Regions from separate parts of the Homo sapiens genome. Here all the other regions are linked to region 3. The links are contacts of gene promoters, found by promoter capture Hi-C in blood cells and fetal thymus (Javierre and others, 2016). All regions are on one chromosome and are shown on one strand. Each heading gives the region's core, a stretch centred on a gene start or on the middle of the fragment in contact. The rest is flanking DNA. Distances are from core to core; before and after follow the strand shown.

Region 1 (2,794 bases), core at 14-2,513, 260 kb before region 3:
AGACCAAAGAAATACTCAGTAGAAGTCATATAATTTTGTCTACACACAACACAAGAAAGCCTGTAAGGAGAAACCTTTCTCAACCTCCACGGGGGGTTGTGGATCAAAGGCGACCTCCGGGATCACCTCCTAAGGGAACAGACTTTTGCTCTTCAGCAGAGATCTCCCGGCAACATGCCACCTCCGTGTTCCCTAGTAAATCCTTCTACCAAACCGGGTGGACAGCCAGCTCTCTGAAGTCCGCCAGGCCCACCCCCACAGTAGGATGTACGCTCTTCCTACTTACCTGGGACTGCTCTTGGAACCGTGCGCCCTCCAAGTGCGAGTAGTAGGCCGCCAGGACATGGTAGGCTATGGCTCGCATCTGGGGGTCATAGCTGCTGAGGGCTGTGACAGTTAGGCCCAGAGCATTTGAATCCAAAAATTTTCGACAATCCACCACAAACTCTGCAGGAAATGAAATACAGCATGAAACACACACAATATGATTTTATTATTCTTGTTAACCTGGAGAATTAAATTTCCTCTTGTGTCTTACCAATAGCTACATGTGCCAAGCACAAGGAATGCAAGTCTCTCTCCAACTCCTCCTAACTTCTGCTGAAGTTAGACAAAAAAACCTCTTCCTTTATGTGGCAATAATGACCATACCTTCAGTTTCTAAAATGCTCATACATCCCAACCAGGATAATTTCATTATTTCTCATAAACACCCAATGAGTCAGGATATTGGAGGTGACACTGAGACCCACTGCGGAGACCCCAGCATGCCAGAGGCCTGGGGAACACAACTGGGAATCAGCAGAGAAAATCAGTCCCCAGCTTCCACCTTGCTCAGCCCTCCACCGCGGGCGCCTGTCTATAAGCATCACCGAGGAAAGCACACACAGCAGTGAAAGCAGGAAAAGGCAGCTGATGCCAACCAGCCCGACAAAGGACTCACTCACACCCACTCTGCAACCCTAGCTCTTCCTTCAAATAAACAACACAAGTCTCACAGAAAAGTGGCTCATCAAGCTTAAGCAAAAGCTACGGTCCAGAGAGCCTGTTGGCTGGTATCCATTTGCCATTTGTGAGGCCGAGAGAAGCTGACAATCACTAGAGGAGAGGAGAAGACTCACAGAGAGAGGGAGAAGGTCAGACACATGAGGGGATGCGCCTTACCACAACCTAGAGGGCTCTTCACTAACGAAACTGAGGACACCTTCCCACTCCTTAATAAAAACCCAGGCTATTCTACAAGATAAATACTGTCAAGAAGAACCTTAGAATAGGAATTAATTATTAATGATTAAACTGATCATGATAATTATCCACAATGATGTTCTCGAGATAGAGTGACCAGTGGCCTAATTGGGAACCAAACACAAGCCAACTGAAATGACTACTCCAAATGAGTAATCATGGAATATAACATCAATAAGAGATAGTCCATTGATGACATTTTTAAAAGTTAAAGAAAGATAAAGCATTTTAAGCAGGGACACAGAAGATACAAAAACCCAAAACCAAGCTTCTAGAGATGAAAACTAAAATATCTGAGCTGAAAAATGCATTGGATGGTGAAATGGTTTGGATTTGTGGCCCTACCCAAATCTCATGTTGAATTACAAACCCCCATGTTGGAGGTGGGGACTCCGGTGGGAGGTGATTGGATCTCGGGGCAGATTTCCCCTTGCTGTTCTCATGCTAGTGAGTTCTCACAAGAGCTGGTTGTTTAGAAGCGTGTGGCACTGCCCCACTTCCTCCTGCTCTGGCATGTAAGATGTGCCTGCTTTCCCTTTGCCTTCTACCATAATTGAAAGTTTCCTGAGGCCTCCCCAGCCATGCTTCCTACACAGACTATGAAACCATGAGTCAATTAAACCTCTTTTCTTGATCAATTATCCAGTCTCGGGTTCTTTATACCAGTGCAAGAATGGACCAATAGAGATGGGATTATCAGTGATTAGACACTAGACCAAAAAGGATTAGCGAACTTAAGACAGCAATAGAAACTATCCAAGCTGAAAACACAGAGAGGAAAAATATGAACAGAACATCAGTGTCCTGTGGGTATGTGTAATAGGGGGTCCCTGAAAAAAATCCGAAGAAATAATGGCCAAAACTTTTTGAAATCTGACCAAAAAAAACTATAAACCTAGACAGCCAAGAAACTCAAAACATAAAACATTAAGAATATCATGCAAGCATCATCACAAATAAAGCATATATATTTATATATAAAAGAAAATCACACGAAAGCACATTGTGATCAAATTGTTTGACACCAGTGATTTAAAAAAAATCTTAAGAGCAGCCACATGACATACAGAAGAATGAAGATAAGAATGGCAGATTTCTTGTCAGAAATAACTCAATTCAGAAACCAGAGGAGCAACTTCTTTAAAGTACTGTAAGAAAAAAAACTGTCAACCTTGAATTTTATACCCCATCAAAATCTTTCAAAAGTTAAGACTTTTTTCAGACACAAAAAAGCTAAAACAATTGGTCACCAGTATCAAAATCTTTCAAAAGTTAAGACTTTTTTCAGACACAAAAAAGCTAAAACAATTGGTCACCAGTAGACTTGAACAATAAGAATTCTTAAAGGAAGTATTTTAGGAAGAAGAAAAATGATACCAGATAGAAATCTAGATCTACACAAAGGAATGGTAACAATATGGCAAATATCAAATATTTACACTTCTTTTAGAAATAATGACAATTTGAAGCAAAAACAACACTATATTGTAGGGTTTATAGCATACTGAAATGTAATGCATGACAAGAATAGCAGAAAAGCCAGAAGGGA
Region 2 (2,700 bases), core at 180-2,679, 310 kb before region 3:
AAATAAAGAAACACACATATAATTAAAAATTATACATGGTTAAATATAATTAAGATATACACTTAATGCAATTTTGGATATGTCATACATTACAAGGTAGATATTCAGTGTTTAACAAAACTATTTAGAGGCATAAATTTTTTAAAAATAAAGCATAATTCTATCAACAGTAGTTCTCAACCTATAATCTACATCTCTTTTATACAATCATCACCATCTCACCTATCTGGCAATGAGAAAATGTTAACATCCAACAACAAGGCTATTTATACCACAAGAATTGAATCAAACAAAATACTGATTTGAATCAAAGATGTATTTCTAGCTTTGCAGTGTTTTAATATATAGTTTTGATTTTGACATGACATGTCTTCCTCATTATTTTGTTGATTAAGCTTTAGCTTTTGAGTTCCCCAAAAATCAACTTTACTAACAACTGAAATGAAATAAGCACACTCTTCCTGCAATCAACACAGATGACGTTATGAGAATTATCGTTTGTGGGGGAGCACTTCTTCACTGACAAACTGTTCATACAAAGATATAAAATGTACAGAATAAAATTACCTGTGTTAGAGACTTTTCTATTTCAACTCTGCTTTCAAGATTAAAAAGCTCTTTATCTTCTGACACAATTTGCTTTTCAGAGGACCCTAAAACATAACTGAAGTACGGTACAAGGTTAAAATACAAGCTGGGTGTGGTGGCATGCACTTGTTCCCAGCTATTCAGGAGGCTGAGACAGAAGGATCATCTGAGGCTAGGAGTTTGAAACCAGCCTGGGCAACACAAGACCCCGGGCAATATGCCTGTAGTCTTAGCTACTTGGGAGGCTGAGGCAGGAGGATCGCTGGAGCCCAGGAGTTCAAGGATGCAGAAAGCTATGACCACAGCACTGCACTCCAGCCTGGGCGACAGAGTGAGACCCCATATCTTAAAAAAATAAGTTTTAAAATAAATAAAAATAAAAAGCTGGGGGCAGGGGGCAATATCCTACTGAACTACTTTCAATTTTTAAAAACAACTGAATATACTTTTATTCCAAAAATTTTCTCACAGTGTTTTCTCCTACAATTTAGAGTGTCTGACTTTTCCAATACCAAATAAAGAAGGAGGTCAAAGCAAAAAAAAAAAAAATTACTGGCTTGTTAGAAATCATTACTTGAAAATATATTTAACCAAACAGTATTGATTTAGTTCTGACAATTCCGTGCCTTAACTTTCTGAAACACCAGTTGTGAGGTAAACATTTATATATCAAACTTACCTTTCAATGGCTTCAACACTGAGGCAAAACAAGTCTCTCTTGTAATCAAGATTCTTGGGCGTGCATCTGTACACGTAGCCAAGATTGAGTGAGCACCCCGCGCAGCACAAAGTCTCAAGGACGCTGCAATAAAGAAATGTCTTGCTTTAGGAAACGAAGCAGCAACTCATTATAATAAAAATCTCACTGTTAAAATCCATAAACACCTCAGTTTCTCAAGTATGCTATTCTGACCACACTAGGTCATACATAAAGGATAGGAAAAAATGATAGTAAGATATTTACAATAAAAATGTAAAGACAGCCACGATGCCTTAAGTATCAAATGACAAGGGACATACAAAAAAGTGACAAGAGAGAATATTGAGGTGGTGTTTTTCTAGAATATAAATTCCTCCATCTGGTACTAATGTAACAAAGTGGAGAATAAATATTTTAGCCTCGCCAGCCATCTGGTGTCTGTCACTACTCACCTCTGCCATTGTAAAACGGAAGCACCTATAGACAATACTAACTGAATAACCTGTGTTCCAATAAACTCGTATTCACAAATGGGTGCCCGCCCCATGGGCCATAGTTTACCAAACTCTGCTCTAGTGGAAGGTAATACTGCTTGGCTTAATAAAAAAAAAGTCTCTAAAGTTAGATGACAACCCATGTAATTGTTTCTTCATTCTAGTTACCTCTCAACTCAGGTTCCACACACTTGAATATACCCTCCCCCAAAGCCTATTCATGTCTCCTTAAAACCTGGCTTAGAATCCAGTGTCTCCCAAACGCCTTGTTGAACTGACCCATCCAAATTTACCATTCTATAAATATACTAAAATTACCATTCCAACACATAGCAAAATGATAACTAGAGATTTAAATCTAGTAGTGATCACAGTAGTAAAACATACACCACAAACGATTTTTATTACAAAAGTATTCTAACTCCTACTCAGTATGTGAAACACTTGTAATCACTAAATATCCATTCCTGCTATCAAGCAAAAGGGAGCTACCCAAGACTCACAGATTATAGACTACATCATTGTTTACTTACAGATACTGAGACACTGTTAATTATTACAGCAACATATGGAACAAAGAACAAAATGGATCACCATCTGATTAAGTCATGAATTCTCACTGATGATGTGATTAGCTGGATAGTATGCCACTGATTACATATTAAGTGTCTACGGGCTTTTATAAGCTTCTATATTTTAGTTTTATAGTAGAAATAGTCTCGCTATGTTGCCCAGGCTGGTCTCGAACTCCTAGCCTCAAGCAATCCTCCACCTTGGCCTCCCAAATGTGAGATTACTGGCAGGAGTCACCATACCCAGCCAGCTTGTTTAAATGTTTATATGAGAAATAAAAAGCATGTCGGTAAATCCCACTTAAATTACTCACAGTGAACAGGTAAACCTCCATGCTATATATCA
Region 3 (2,849 bases), core at 163-2,662:
CAGGGTCCCGCCTGGTGGGACTAACTCTGTCCCCACAGAGCTCAACTCACTGGCATCTCCCCAGTGTTGCAGTCCTCCGTGAGAACCTCGGCTGCCACAGCTGTCTTCTCCATGACAGCCCCAGCTCCTGGGCACGGGTCCTCTGGGTGGGTGCCCTCTTTGGGGTCCCTGGCCTCGAGTTGACCTGCCAGCATCCTGGTTGGGAAGGGAAGGGCTATGGGGACACTTGAATGCAGCCCTCCTACCCCGTCAGTGTGGGCTGAAGGCCCCAGCCCCAAACTAAGGGTGAGCAGGACCCGCAGCCGCTCCTTCTCCCCCTGGGTCATGTGCACATTCCCAGGCCCGAAGCTGACCAGGTGAAAGGACACCACAGACAGAGGGACTGAGCTGTCCACACCTGGCTCTCCACCATCCTCCGTGGAAAATGCTTTAGATCCTAGAAGATCAGCCTGACACCTAACACACTCCAGTCATCCAAAGAGGGGTGTGAGTGGGGTGTGAGCCGGTGTGAGTGGGATGTGAGTGGGTTGTGAGCAGGATATGAGCGGAATGTGAATGGATGTGAGCGGATGTGAGCACGATGGTCTTGGGGTATGAGCAGGTGTGAGTGGAATGGTCTCAGGGTGTGAGCAGGTGTGAGTGGAGGGTCGCATGAGACACCGAGGGAATTCTCAGCCCTTTAATCAGCACCCACCTGGAGGGGCACAGGCAGACCCTCCACCGTGTTGAGTATGTGTCTTGAACCATCAGGGTGACATTTGTGAATTCATGGTGAAGATGTGGAAAGGAAACACCTTTTTATAGGTACAGCATTTATGCCAGTTCTAGGAAGTTCACAGCAATTAGAGAACAAAAACGAAAGAGAAAAACGCAAAGCTTTCCTGCAAGCCTGCAGGGTCGTCTCTGAAAGCTGCCTCCACCCCTGCCTTGCCCTGTCCGTTTTAGGAAGCCAGTGGCCCCCAACGAAACCCCGACTGTTTAATTCATAAACTTCTAACTGTGTGAGAAGGAACAGTTTAACCACAGTGATCGGAGAAATGCTATTTAAAAGAGAGTCTCCTGATGGAAGCGAATCGAAGGTCTAGAGCAAGACCTACCAGTAACCAGATCACTGCCATTCCTTCCCCGCGGAGACTGGGAATGTTTCTGCGGAAGTGGGCTGGGGTCACGGTCCTCACAGCCCTGAGAAAGCTCCTTCTTTCCTGCTCCTCTGAGGGGACACCCCAGTGTCCTCGGCCCCAAACTCATGACCCCCTCAGTCCAGGGAAGACCCTTTCCTTCAGCCCCACCACCAGACCTCGTCACCTCACCTGGTCCCCAACAGTCACTACTGCCAGGATCAGATCATCTGGGCCATGTCCCCACAGTTGTCCCCAAGCCCTCCTGCCTCATATCCAGAGACCAGAGAGCAGCGGACAGTTCCAACGGACTTTCTGTCTTAAAGGGACATGAACGTCTCACTCAGCGTCACCACTGTACCAGCTCAGATAATAATTAAACATCCCCAAACCTGCAATTCTTAATATAGAAGCTCATCGTCAGTGGAGTCCATCCATCCACAAAGGACATTGGAGAGAGTCAAACTACTCCTCCAAATTGACAAAAACCATGTGTTTTATATCCAGTCTTCAATACGCAACGTGTAGTAAGAGCTCATTTCTCTGAGCATACATTCTTGGAGAAATACAAACTTTCTTCGGATATCAAATTATTTACTAGAAAAAACATTTTTATGAAGGGAAAATAATATATGTGAGTTTAAATAGGAGACAGGATTCAAAGTTTCATCATTTCACTAAATGCATCTCCATCTGAATTGTCCGTGTGATTTTTGTGATAGAGAAGAGAATGAGGAGCAAGCAAGAGTCGATATTCCTGTTAAACCCTGGCTGTCCTTCTCATCCATGGTGCTGCGTGTGGACAACATACACCTGGGGCTCACCTGAGCCTGCTTGGGACGTGTGTCACTTGGATAGTTCTGCAAGCGATTCGCATGCAATAGGCAGTAAATGCCGACGTCATGAATGAATGAAGAGAATACTACAAAGAGGAAACAGAAGGCACTTTTGTCCCCATGTGTCATTCTAACTGTGAGAGTGTGTGTGTGTGTCCTGAGGTGTGCGAGTGTGTGTGTGTGTGTCCTGAGGTGCGTGAGAGGTTGTATGTTTGTCCTGAAGTGTGTGAGAGTTTATATAGGTTTCTGAGGTATGTGAGGGGTTGTGTGTGTCCCTGAGGTGTATGAGGTGTGTGTGGGTCCTGAGGTGTGTGAGTGGTTGTGTGTGGGTCCCTGAGGTGTGTGAGAGGTTGTGTGTGGGTCCTAAGGTGTGTGAGTGGTTGTGTGTGGGTCCTAAGGTGTGTGAGAGGTTGTGTGTGGGTCCTAAGGTGTGTGAGTGGTTGTGTGTGGGTCCTAAGGTGTGTGAGAGGTTGTGTGAGTCCTGAGGTGTGTGAGAGGATTGTGTGTGAGTCCTGAGGTGTGTGAGGGGTTATGTATGGGCCCCTGAGGTGTGTGAGGGGTTTTATGTGTGTCCTGAGAAGTGTGATGAATTGTGTGGGTCCTGAGGTGTGTGAGGGTTTGTGTATGAGACCCTGAGGTGTGTCAACATTGTGTGTGAGACCCTGAGGTGTGTGAGGGGTTGTGTGTGGATTCCTGAGGTGTGTGAGGGCTTGTGTGTATGAGCCTGAGGTGTGTGGGTTCCTTATATGGGTTCCTGAGGTGTGTGAGGGGTTGTGTGTGTGTCCTGAGGTGTGTGAGGGGTTGTGCTTGGGTCCTGGGGTGTGTGAGTGGGTGTTTGTCCTGAGGTGTGTGAGAGGTTGTGTGTGTGTCCTGAGGTGTGTGAGAGTTTGCGTAG

Evidence for each region. Contacts are between HindIII fragments. The CHiCAGO score rates a contact against its expected background, and 5 or more counts as called.
Region 1: a fragment that was not itself captured here is called in contact with the fragment with the promoter of TCP10L in region 3 in 6 of 17 cell types (endothelial precursors, erythroblasts, M1 macrophages and 3 more); the score reaches 8.0 in endothelial precursors.
Region 2: a fragment that was not itself captured here is called in contact with the fragment with the promoter of TCP10L in region 3 in 1 of 17 cell types (endothelial precursors); the score reaches 5.3 in endothelial precursors.

What each region holds. Positions count from the first base shown.
Region 1 is chr21:32,324,943-32,327,736 of GRCh38, forward strand. It overlaps URB1 (URB1 ribosome biogenesis factor), which reads right to left. Exons shown (of 39, transcript NM_014825.3): 31 at 287-447. Among named protein-coding and RNA genes, the nearest start is that of MRAP-AS1, 18 kb to the left of the region's middle. The HindIII fragment of the contact is 496 bases long and covers 1,016-1,511 here.
Region 2 is chr21:32,269,140-32,271,839 of GRCh38, forward strand. It overlaps MIS18A (MIS18 kinetochore protein A), which reads right to left. Exons shown (of 5, transcript NM_018944.3): 3 at 1,268-1,390; 4 at 568-664. Among named protein-coding and RNA genes, the nearest start is that of MIS18A, 8.6 kb to the right of the region's middle. The HindIII fragment of the contact is 2,073 bases long and covers 394-2,466 here.
Region 3 is chr21:32,584,111-32,586,959 of GRCh38, forward strand. TCP10L (t-complex 10 like) reads right to left here and starts at 1,413. Exons shown (of 5, transcript NM_144659.7): 1 at 1,311-1,413; 2 at 51-195. The coding sequence starts at 194. All of the region lies in intron 5 of CFAP298-TCP10L (CFAP298-TCP10L readthrough), which reads right to left. RefSeq lists an enhancer at 1-170 and a silencer at 1,252-1,451. The HindIII fragment of the contact is 14,271 bases long and covers 875-2,849 here.